Regions from separate parts of the Homo sapiens genome. Here region 1 is linked to region 2. The links are contacts of gene promoters, found by promoter capture Hi-C in blood cells and fetal thymus (Javierre and others, 2016). All regions are on one chromosome and are shown on one strand. The core of a region is centred on a gene start or on the middle of the fragment in contact, and the rest is flanking DNA. Distances in the headings are between cores, read along the strand shown. Region 1 overlaps FOXP4 (forkhead box P4). Region 2 holds the start of TREML4 (triggering receptor expressed on myeloid cells like 4).

Region 1 (6,291 bases), core at 822-3,321, 320 kb before region 2:
ATGGTACAAAGACCTAACCTCTGTGGTAGAAAGAAGGCAAAAAGAATCACCCACAACCATCAGTTCTTTTTTTTTTTGAGACAGGGTCTCACTCTGTGTCGCTCAGACTGGAGTGCAGTAGCGCGATCTCGGCTCACTCACTGCAACCTTTCCTCCTTGGCTTAAGTGATCCTCTGGTCTCAGCCTCCCGAGTAGCTGGGACTACAGTCACATGCCACCACACCCTAATTTTTGTATTTTTTGTAGAGAGGGGGTTTCACCATATTGCCCAGGCTGGTCTCAAACTGAGCTCAACTGATCCTCCCACTTTGGCCTCCCAAGTGCTGGGATTACAGGCATGAGCCACTGCGCCCATCCCACCATCAGTTATTAAGTAGCTGTGTGGGAATTAGATTTGGGTCAGGGTGTCCTTATAGGTCCTCTCTCTGAGATCTTCTTGTACAGACCCTGCAGTCTTTTTTTTTTTTGGAGGCAGAGTCTCATTCTGTCGCCCAGGCTAGAGTGCAGTGGCACAATCTCGGCTCACTGCAACCTCCGCCTCCCGGGTTCAAGCAATTCTCCTGCCTCAGCCTCCTGAGTAGCTGGGACTACAGGTGCCTGCCACCACGCCCGGCTAACTTTTGTATTTTTAGTAGAGATGGGGTTTCGCCATGTTGGCCAGGATGGTCTTGAACCACTGACCTCAGGTGATTCACCTGCCTTGGCCTCCCAAAGTGCTGGGACTACAGGCATGAGCCACTGTGCCTGGCTAGACCCTGCAGAGTCCTTCAGACACTGTCCCACACTAGATTCTCCTTGAGGAATACTGGGGACAGGTGAATCTCCATGTCAAAGCTGCTAACCAAAATGCCTTCAGGGGCTAGGCTGGTCACTTAGGAGGCCAGGTGAGGAGGGCACGAGGAGGCAGCTGCCACTCAATCCCAGTCCATCCTTTCCACACAGAAATGCAGGCTCAGTGTTGACAGGGCTTGGGTTTTTCAAAAGGAGCAGAAGTGGGGATATTTATGTGAAATTTACCATTGTAATGAACTGTGTGTGGGTCAACAAAACTCAGCAGGGATGAAGTTAGTCCACTTGTGACCTCAGCCCTTATGGCCAGCATTTCAGAAAGGCAAGTTCCAGTTAACTGTGACTCGGGGCAAGTCAGGTAACCTCTCTGGGCCTGGGTACTTCACCTATCAAATGAGAGTGATAATTACCACTGCCTGGAGAATCTTTCAGGGTTGTTGTGGGGATAAGAACAAGGAGGTATGTGAAACGGCAAAGCACAGTTCCTCAGTCAGGGCCTGGTGACTACCTAGCTCTACCTGCCACAACAACCTCCCAGGTTTCCTAATAGGGATGTCCTATTAGAACTTCCTTCCCCCATCTTCCATGCAGGGGGCAGAGCAAGGGCTTCCAAGTGTCCTTGAAAATGCTGAGGGCTTGTTCCTGCAGATATCTGACCTGACTGTTGGGAGGCTTGGAGGTACCACACACCTATGCCCTCTGCCCTGTGTTTTAATGGATCAGTTCTGGCAGGGGCAGCAGCTTCTGAATGACAAAATCCTGAGGGTTAAAAGGTCCCTAGCTTGGTCCTTCTCTACCTCCTCTGTCCCCAACTAGGGTGCAGTCTGTTCCCAGCTCTTCCTCCCTCCCCTAGTCCTCCTAAGTTTCTCACCAGAAGCCCCTGGAGCACACAGGATCACGGCCAAATTCCCAAAGGGTGAGATTCTGTTTACTTAAGGAGAGATCAGACAGGGTCCAGGGGAGGGGAAGTCCTCCTGCCCCCACCTCTGAAAGGGCAAATCCCAGCCAGTACCCAGTCCATGGGTATCCATCCAAGCCAAACTGGGCAAAGGGGCACAGAGCAGTGGTTTTATTTTAGAAAATAAGTGCAATTAAAAGAAAGGCAGAAAAAAAGGAATGGGGGAGGAGAAGGCTGCCCTGGTGTGAGGGGGAGGGGGGATGGCGGCACACAAGGGCCAAGCTGAAGCTCGCCTCACCTCGCGGAGCTCTCTCTCCCAACGAGATTCAATTAATTGATAACATGAGGCATCAAATTAATTTCTGGAGAATGTGAGATTCTGATGAAGGGAAATCTCGTCGATGGGGATCGGGTGGGAGGGGGCAGGCAGCACCCCTTTTAATCAGGCTCCACTGCCTAATTGGGAAGGAGGAGACTTGCATGGGTCATAGTGTCCTCTGCCCCGAGCTCCACAGCACCCCTTTCAAGAAGGACCCATGGAAGTAGGCTCCCGATGCCCTTGGAACAAAGAGGGTGTACGTTGAGACCTTCAGGTCTCTTCTTGCCTGGCTCCCAACCCACAGCTTCAGGATGGTGAGCCCGAGGATGTGGGGCTGCAGGTGTCCTCTTCACCCACTGTACAGTTAGGAAAACTGAGGCCCAGAGAGAAGACGGGTCATGCCTAAGGCCGAAGAGTGAGTTAGGAAGTTGGCAGCAGTGGGCTTACCGGGGACCCTCATCATGTACCCGTGTGGGTACAGACTGTTTAGGCCTAGACCCACAAAATCATCTCTGAGCACAATCGGTGGGCAGCTTTCTCTGTGGCTAAACACTGCCATGCTGCCTGAGCCGTCCCCTCTTCCAGTGTTTCCGGATCCCCAGCTGCCGGCCCGAGCTAGCCCAGCTGCAGTTCTTTTCTCTGCGTCTGGTGAGTGCCGAAAACCCCTTGTGTTATATCCCTGTGCTCAGGTCTCAGACATGCAGGAGCTTCCAGCAACTGGAACTGATGCGCTCAGTTAAAAAGGTAAAAACTCACTGAGGGAACAATCCAAAGCGAGCGCTCAGCTGGGGAGGGGAAACAGGTAGCTCTGGCTCTCTGGGAAAGAAAGCTCAGAGGCTTCCTGAAGGAGGGATTCTCTCAGTGGACCAACTCTACACCCTCAGCATGGCCTGACCATCCAGCTTCTCCAGCTCCCATCCAGAGACGCAGCCTCAAAAAGCCTGGCGCTTTGCTCCCTGAGTGCTTACAGCCGCAGCCTCTCGCTGGGTCTCCCACAAATCCTGATGTTTCATATCTCCCCAAAACTCTCCCTAGTGTACCCCTTCCTTCCAGGATGCGGATGTGCATCTGCAGGGGAACCCCAAAGGAAAGGAGGAAGTACACCGCCACCCTCTTTTGAAGCAACTTCTTTAGGCCTGGGTCTCCATAGAAATGTTCTCCTAGAAACGTAAAGCCAGCCGGGAATGGAATCCAAGGAAGCCCCGCTGAGGAGATGAGAACGGAAGCTACCCCAACCTCCCACCCCCTGGTTTCATTTCACACGGGGAGGCCCTCCTAAGGGCTCTCTGGGTGGCACACATGTCCTGTCTCAGCTGGGGGTTTCAGGACCCACGCTGGCTCAGGTGGCCAGTGCCCACAGATCTGTGCTCCGGCCCTTGTTCTATTTCTGATTTTCCAAGTTGCATGTGAGCCACCCCTTCTCCGGGTCCCTCCTGCTGCCCTTCACCAGCCTGGCCTCCAGCACACAGTAGGCGCTCCACAGTGTGTTCGTAGGATGGATACAACTACTGAGTCCCTGGCTCCATTCCCTAAGCCACCCTACCTTCAAGTCGCCATCATTTTGCCACCCCTTTGCTGCTACTTGAGTAACTTCTGCTCCCACCAGTCCTGCCTACCTTGAACAAATGCCGGATGGTCTCTATTCTACATACTGTTAGTCTGAGGAAAACCCACTATGTCGCCCCATTTTCCATTTACATGGTAGCCTGGGTCACAGACCATCAGAACTGCAGCAGGAAAGGAAACACCATTTACCTCTATCTTGCACTATCAACTGGCTCCACCCACCATCAGGCCTGGCTGTGGAGGCTCCAGTTGGCCAGAGCATGGGGCCCAGGGAGGTGGGCAGAGCAGCTGGGATTCAGGGAACAGGCGGCTGTATGGCTACCATCCAGACAGGAGAGAAGGAAGGTGCAGGGCTGTGCCAGAGGGACAGCCGGGAAAAGACCCTGATCTCAAGAGGGATCCTGGGACCAGGATCAAGGCAAGGAGGGCATTCGCCAGGCCCAGGCATGTCCAGCCCGGGCGACACACCACAGCAACAGTGACTCCACGGTCCAACACCTGCGGCCCTGTCCAGATGTGTACCTTTTGTGCCAGGAGCTCTTGTTTTCTAGATCAGGCAGGTGTGCCCTGCGTCCAGGCTCTGCAAGGGCCCAGGAGCAACATCTCACAAGACCACAGCATCCAAAGTGGCAGAATTCAGAGGAAAGAGGGTTCCCGCTGTGATCCCGGCTTGGTGGAACTGGCAGTGGACTGAAGGTGTGTATTTCCACAGAGAATCCTGGGAGGCAACGCTGAAGGGAGCCAATAACTTCAGGCTCAAGGGGAGTTTCCTTTTGCTTCTTTGAGATGATCCATTCAGTGATAGGTCCCAAACTGGTCTGAGACTTGCTGCCAAAATCTTCCATAAGGACGTGTAGGCTAGGGTTTCCAAACCCTAGAAATCTCCCTTTCTGGAGAGAGGGGTTATCAGTCATTTTTCCTCCTCTGCATTCTGGGGAATTCTCTCTCCCATTTATGTGTGTCTCACAAGAACCTTAGGAGTGCCTGGGGAATGCTCCAGGGTTGTGTGCAGGTGGAAACACCAGATTCTGCACCTACAGTCCCCCTCTCCACTTAAAGGGAAAAGAGAAAGTATTCACACTAGAAGGCAGGCGGCCTAGGCCAAGCTTATGGAGGAAGGAGGGAGGAATGGCAGCTCCTCCCATCCCTTCCTTTCTCCCTTCACCACAGCACACGCTCAAGCCCTACTGGTTATACTGGGAGTCGAGGGCCCCATATTTTAGTTCCAGCTGTGCTACCATGTAGCTGTGTAACCTTGGACAAGTTGCCTCTTCTCTCTGGACTTCGTTTTCCCAACCCATAAAATGAAGATTAATACTTCAGTATTTCCATATTCAACCAACATGTGGCCTGGCAGTGCTAGCAAATTAATAATAAACGCCATCCCTTGATCAGTACTACCATGCACCCGGCACCGTGCAAGGTACTTGACATCTGCTCTCTCATCTAACTCCCAAACAGAATCTCTAAGGTGGGTATTATGACCTACTTTACAATGTAAGAAAATTGAGGTTCGAAGAGCTTAATTAAGTTCTCCAGAGTCCCATCTCTAATGCCAAGTTCCAAAGCCTTTTCCACTCTGACACATGTTCTGCCCTGGGGAGGCCTCAGTTCCTTGCTCTGGGTTCCAGAGTTCTGGAACCAAATCTGAGGAGGTCATTCCAGCCAACGGAGCCTGAGAGTCCTGTCAAAAATAGTACCTGCCCTGCCTTGGTCTAGGGAAGCTGGAGCGTGGTAAGATCTGTGAGAAGGGAAACTGTGAGGAGTTTCTTGGATGGAAGAAATTATTATTTCACACAGTTTAGGCTATTCAAAAAATAAAGACATTGTGCCTGCTTAGGATGGGACTGGGGGGCTTGCACTGTGGCTGGAGAGACAGGAAACCGCCAAGGCAGTGGGGTAGGAAGGGTTAAGATGCAGGGAAGGCTTCCTGGGGAGACAACCCTTCCCTCCCCTTGCACCTCACAACTCTCCTCTGAAACAGACACCCTGTTCCCATTCTTCTCCCCTCCACCCTCCCCCCCACCATGTGATATCTGTCTCTCCTACCCCAACAATCTGAGGTCCAGACAGCAGACCCCAGCCTTCACTGCTTGGGTACCCCAGTACTCAGCCTGGGACCTGCCCAGGCAGAGTAGGGGCTCAGCAAACATTTGGGGGAATTACTGGATCAAAAGCAAGCCTTCCTCTCCCAGTCCCTCTGCTTCCCTCCCACCAAGGAAGAGGTATGTTTGGGGTAGGGGCCCAGCAGGATATGCACATTCCTGGCAAGAAGGGACCTACCTGCCTACAGCCAGAACGGAAGTTTTCGGCTCTAAAGGCAGAGGAAGGGGGCTGGGGGCGTCTAGGTGTGAGGAAGATCCCTACACAGAAAGGGACAGGAGCAGGTCCCTTTGCAAGTGGGACCCTTTGCAAATGCTCTGGCCCTGGCGTTCTCCAGCACTGGGGTCAGGTCTTTCTCTCTCCAGGGCTCAGGGGTTCCCCAACTCCGTAACTCCTGGGAAACCTGTCCAGGACAGGGAGAAGGACAGAAAACTCCACCCAGGCGCCCAGCCCTTGGTGCCAGGAGAGAAGGCTCCCATGGTCTCCCAAACTTAGTAGCAAGGCTGGAGCCAGGATAAAGTGGGTCCTGAGGGTCCCGTCCCGCAGGAGAGATTCAGCGCTCACCCTGGCCCTGGGTGTGGAGGCTGAGAGGGGGCAACCACAAAACCACCTCTTC
Region 2 (5,959 bases), core at 6-2,505:
CTAATCTTCCCCCACCGAGGCCTCCAACCTACCTGTGCTTGTTGGGAGCCAGGGAAGAGTCCACATAGGAGACGTGGTTGGGGCTAAAGAGAAAAGACAGCAGACAATGACTCTCCAGGGGCCCAGAAGAGAGTAGGGTCTACCCCATACATAAGAGGAGGTAGGGGCCCAGAGCCAGACCCTCAGGATGTCTTAAGCCAGGAGTGGTCTGTGCCTAAGATCTGCATGACAGAGTTGTTGGTGTGTGTGTGTTAGTGTGTGTGTGAAAAGAAGAGTTGTGGGTGTGCCTGTGTAAGACAAAGAGAGACGCAGAGTGACAGACAGACTGTGTCTCTGTCCAGGGACCTCTGAGGGTACCTTCCCAACAATTGAGGCCAGGATGTACCGGGTGGAGGAGAGGTGAGAGTCCATGTTTGGGGACAGGATCTTTGCTCCCCTTGGACCACAGCAGAATACCTGGCAGGATGGGGGATGATAGAGGCATGGGAGGGGGTGCATGACATTTCCTTCAGGTCCCTGGGGGGTGGCACAGAGGTATTTCCTCAAGAAAAGAGCTCACCTGGAGACACCACCAGGCTGATATTTCTAAGAACAGTGATGATGTTTTCGGAAGCGTTGTAGATTCCACACCAGTAGAATCCCGAGTCATTCTGTGTCAGCTGAATCATGGTGATGTTGAAGAAGCCAGCATTGGGCTTGTCCCAGATTGTGTAATGAGACTTCTGAACTGCTGTCCAGGGCTTGGAGCTGGTGACAAGTAAGGTACACCGACTTGGAGATGTCTGCTGACACCAGGATTTGGGCTGATAGGGCCCTCTCTTGGGTGAGTACTGGCATTGCAGGAGGAGGGTCTGTCCTGGGTGTTTGTGAAGTTCTTCAGGCACAGCACCCTTTACCCAGGAACCGGCAGAAAGAAACCCAGGTCAGAGCTCTGAAGGGACCCAACCTCCCCCATCACAGGCTGGGGAAGGGGAGGGGGAACTAGTTCTGATGCCCACACATGGAAGAGGGCCCCTAAATTCTGTCCTATGGTCACACAGCCATGCTGCTCCCTGCCCCACTCATTCTTCATCCCACTCCTTACACCCCCTGCACTCTTTCCCTCCATGTCACCTGAGGCCAGGAGCAGCAGCAGCACAGGTGGAAGCAGCAGGTGTGGACCCCACCCCAGGCCATTCCAGCCCAGATCTGTTTCTGACAGCGGAGGAGAGGAGAAAAAAGGGAGCCCTCTCAGGAGGAGTCAGACGCTGGGTCTGATTCTGCCCCAGGTTCCCAGTGTCTCTCAGCTGGTAAAATTGAGGAAGTCAATGTCTTGCTGGGGAAATGGTCGGCCTGGGAGGGCGGGCTCTGCAGACCAGGGGAGGAGGGGCAGCCAGGCCTTGAAAGGGGCCACCAGCTACAGGGTCTGTCTCTGGGCCTGGGCACCTCAGCCCTGCTGTGTTGCTCTGCCGCCTTTCACTGAACTTCTCCCCATGTCTGCTGCTTTATGCCTTCCAGCCAGTCATACTGCTCCTCTATTGCTAGGGGCAGCTCTCAGCATGGCCAAGAATAAAGCTGGTGAATAAAGCTGGGGTCATCCCTCTTTCCTTCTCTCTGTGCACTTCCTATAGGTGGTCAGGGCCCTTGGAGGCACGACCAGACCCCTGAATCCTTCTGGTCTAGCCATGGTGGGTTGATGATGAGTTTTGACCCTGAGACATTTTGTAGAGGGCAGATTTTAATCCCAGGAATTACAAGATGTTCCCTGGAAATGGTGGGGCCAGGAAAGCAGGGAGGAAAGAGAGTGCTGGTCAGGGAAAGTTGGAGGGGAAGGCAGGTAGGAGTGGATCAGTTATGGTAGCTTGGGATCATCTCAATCAGTGCTTGTTGGATGAATACATCAGTGGATGAAAGAACAACGCGTGTGTAAAATGTACAGAAAAAGAAAATGGCCGAAGTGAGAACTATCTAGCAACAAAACCAAGTGGTACTGGATTACTACCCAATGTATATATTAAATCTCTAGGAGTCCATGCTGATGTAAGTAAATGACTGAATAAAGAACTGGGGGGGGGAATAGACAAATATCCCATGCATAAGGATTCTGCTGTGTTCAGAATGTTGTTCCCCCATCTCATATATTCAAACTTAATTTCCATGTGATAGCGTTAAGAGGTGGGATCTTGTGGGAAAATCTTAAGTCATGAGGGCGTCATCCTCAAGAATGCAATTAATGCCCTTATACCAGAGATTGCAGGAAGCAGATTTGCGCTGTCTGCCATATGAGGACAGTGTTCATGCCTTCAGTCAACTGAGGTTACTGCAAGAAAGCACCACCTTGGAAGCAGAGAGCAGCCCTCAGCAGATACCACATCCACTGACACCTTGATCTTTGACTTCCCAGACTCCAGAACTTTGAGAAAGAGATTTCTATTATTTAGAAAGTCTCCAGTCTAAGGCATCTTCTCATAGCAGCCTGAAGGGACTGAGAGAGATTGCAAACAATTCTTATAGGTATTCTGCCCTCAAGGCAGAAGCATAAATTCCCACGGCTTAAGCATGGGCTGTGCAGGTGACTTTCCTCCAGAGGATAGCATGGGAAGGAAGAGAAGAGTAACTGTACAGTGGAGAAACCTGACACTTACTGTGGCAGCCAGGCAACCAAAGTGCAGACCCACAGGGATAACTCAGGTTGTTAGAATGTGTCATTGACTTGATGTGATGACAGGGCAATTAGCTGTGCAGTCTCCTTCCCCAAAGCCGCTGGCCCCAGGAGAAAAACATCAAACAAATTCCACATGAGGGACATTCTACAAAATACCTGAGCAGCGTTCCTCAAAACTGTCAAGGCCATCAAAACTAAGAAATAATTCTCAGAAACTGCTATGAATAAGAGGAGCCTAAGCAGACATGAAGACTAAAAGCAATGTGGCTTCCTAGGTGGGATCCTGGAGCACAGAAAGTACATGAGGTAAAAGCCAGGGTAATCTGAATGAAGTAAGGACTTCAATTAATAAAATCTACCACAGAAACAGAGTAGAATGGCATTACCAGAGGCTGGGAATTGGACAAACTGGGTAGGTATTGTTGAAGAAACACAATATGTTAGACAGAAAAAATAAGTTCAAGAGATCTATTGCACAGTATGGTGAGTGCAGTTCATAACTATGAATTGTACAATTGAAAATGACAGAAAATAGATTTTAAATGTTCTCACCACAAAACAAGTAAGTATATGTGGTATTGCTTGATTTAGTAATTTCACAGTTAATACACACATCAAACTATCCTACCACGCATTATAAATATATGAGTTCTACTCATCAATTTTGTAAAATTATAGTAATGTATCAATATCAACTCATTAATTGTGAGAAATGTAGCATACTATTGGACTATATTAATAATAGAAGACATTGAACATAGCACATCAGGGAAGTATGCAATACCTACACAACTCTTCTGTGAATCTGAAAGCATTCTAAGTGTAAAAGATTAGTTTTAATATGTATAGAAACGATTTACACAAAGCATATGAATAATCACTTGATACATAACAAACAGCGTGTACATAACAAACAGCAAAGTTTTAAGAAATCTTAGTACGGCTAGGTGTAAAGCACCTACTAACACTTGATGGTAATAAGAGTCATTTTCTTAAACACACTGAAGTTTCTAAGAAAAGTATGATAAATTCTGGAAGAGGAAAATAGGAATTTATTCTCTGCATCTGTATCATTTGATGCCTTCAGTGTGATATGTCACACATAGTGTCCGATGTACTGATTGCTGTAAATGAAAATTTGTTACTATAACGTTTATACTACAGAATAGGGTTTATTTGGTGTAACAAGGCAAATACTATATTTTTACAAATAGCGTTTATTTGACATAACAAAGCAAATACTATATGTTTATTTTTCACTTAGTCATATTTGACTTTCATTGACAGCAAAAGAAACAACAAAACTTATAAATTTTAACTATTGTGATCTCAGTTTTGGCTGAGAGTATTCAGGTAGACACTGTGAACTCACTATATATTCATTGCCACCTCTTTCTTTCTTCCCTTCCTTCCTTCCTTCCTTCCTTCTTTCCTTCTCTCTCTTTTTCTTTCTCCTTCCTTCCTTCCTTCTTTTTTCTTTTCTTTTCTTTCTTTCTTTCTTTCTTTTTTCTTCTTCTGTCTCTCTTTTTCTTTTCTTGAGATGGAGTTTTACACTTTCGCCCAGGTTGCAGTGCAGTGGTGTGATCATGGCTCATTGCAGCCTTGACCTCCCAGGGCTCAAGTGATCCTCCCACCTCAGCCTCCTGAGTAGCTGGGAGTGTGGGCACACACCAATGCACCTTGTTATTATTATTATTATTGCTTTTCATAGAGACAACGTTTCACCATGTTGGCCAGGCTTGTCTTGAACTCCTGGACTCAAGAGATCCACCCAGCTTAGCCTCCCAGAGTGCTAGAATTACAGGTGTGAGCCACTATGAGTGGCTGCCACCTCTTTTTCATGGGTCTTTCTATAGTAAAAGGTCTACAAGATCATTTCTGATTCCTTTGCAGCTAGGGTTCCAGATATATTTTAGGTCCCACCCATTCAATGTATTTGTATGAGACTTAAATGAGGAAGTGAGCTAGAATGGGAAGAGAGGCATCCATTGTGCCGGTAGACTATGGGTGAGATGGAGGGGTTCTTTAGCCAGGGCTGTGATGGCAGCTTCCAGATTTGGAAAGTTGCCTGATTTGGAAAGGGTGTTGACTGTGGCAAAGGCAGTGGTCCCTTAGTAGCCCATCCTGTGGCTTTAAGAGTGATGCCCAGAAATTACATAGGATCTGATTCTGTAAAGCATTTAATGTTTGATTTTAAAAATCTCTTTCTCCTTAAAATCCGTAGCTTGGATTTTGTAGTTTGCAGCTAAATCTTGACTAATGCAAGTCCCAAGAAAATATATGCTATCTGTCAGAGTGAGGTGGGAGGCCAGTGTGAAGCACATGCCAAAAGGTATTGAAACCTTCTTTGAGGAATGAATCCCTCACACACATCAAGGGTAGAAAGTTGTGAGGAGTGTGAAGATTGGGAGAGGACTTTTGGAGACAGCTGGTAGTTGTGCTGTGACCCTGGGGGAGGAGAGGGTTAGATTCCTGCATCTTATCTCAAACCTAGGGAGAGGCTTGAGATAGGGTCACAACTTGGAAAGATGGTTGTGGCCCCTGCAGTCTGGGAGATGTAGCAGCTGAGTTGGATTCAGTCTGAGAGCTGTATTGGGTAGAGACAGCAGGCGGCAAGCTGTCCTGATGGTGGAATGGAGGAGAGGTGACCTTGTGGGGGCCCCCAGGCTCCATGACTTTGTTGGGGTGAAGGAAGTGGATGGCTTCCGTGGGCCAGATGTTGGGCTGCACAGATGTGAGGCACCCAGCATGGGTGGTTGTAGATCCCACCCAAAAGGCCTGCTGGAGGTGGAGGGACGCATGGCAGGAAGCTGGAAGTGGACTGCGAAAGGCTTGGAGGCTGAAGGAGATGTCAGGAGCACCCACCAGGAAGGAGATCCAAGGCTACATGAGGAAGCTGCAGGTGACAGGCAGGGTGTCATCGGAAGAGCCCACAACGGTGCCCTCTGAGAAACCTCAGCTTGAACTCTTTGGGTCATCACCAGACTTTCCTGACCCTTCCTCTTCTCCTCTCCATGCTCCAGGCCTGGAGGCTTCCCAAACTGCAGCTGGAGGGCAGAGAAGACCAAGTAAAGAAAGGAAAGCCAACGTGGGCCCTCTGCCCTCTGAGGGTTAAAATTCCGAGGCTTTGGGGAAGAAGCTTTATTTTACATGGAGCCCTTTTTCCTCCACACTAATCACTGAACTGAAGCCAGTTTTGGAATAACCTTTTCCCTATTTATAAACAGAGGGGATGAACGAGGGAGCACAGGGGATTTGGAGGGCAGTGGGGCAACTGTGTGATCCCACAATGATGAGTTGATGTCATCACACGTC

Evidence for each region. The method cuts DNA at HindIII sites, captures the fragments that hold promoters and counts their contacts. A CHiCAGO score of 5 or more calls a contact.
Region 1: a contact is called between a fragment that was not itself captured here and the fragment with the promoter of TREML4 in region 2, in 6 of 17 cell types (activated CD4 T cells, M1 macrophages, non-activated CD4 T cells and 3 more). The highest score is 7.1, in activated CD4 T cells.

Annotation. Positions count from the first base shown.
Region 1 is chr6:41,549,037-41,555,327 of GRCh38, reverse strand. The region is part of intron 1 of FOXP4 (forkhead box P4); the gene reads right to left. Among named protein-coding and RNA genes, the nearest start is that of FOXP4-AS1, 3.6 kb to the right of the region's middle. RefSeq lists an enhancer at 1-197. The HindIII fragment of the contact is 5,218 bases long and covers 1-4,680 here.
Region 2 is chr6:41,223,645-41,229,603 of GRCh38, reverse strand. It overlaps TREML4 (triggering receptor expressed on myeloid cells like 4), which reads right to left and starts at 1,255. Exons shown (of 6, transcript NM_198153.3): 1 at 1,114-1,255; 2 at 560-890; 3 at 33-83. The coding sequence starts at 1,176. It overlaps LOC105375055 (a long non-coding RNA gene), which reads right to left. Exons shown (of 3, transcript XR_926794.3): 3 at 3,776-5,691. The HindIII fragment of the contact is 15,987 bases long and covers 1-5,785 here.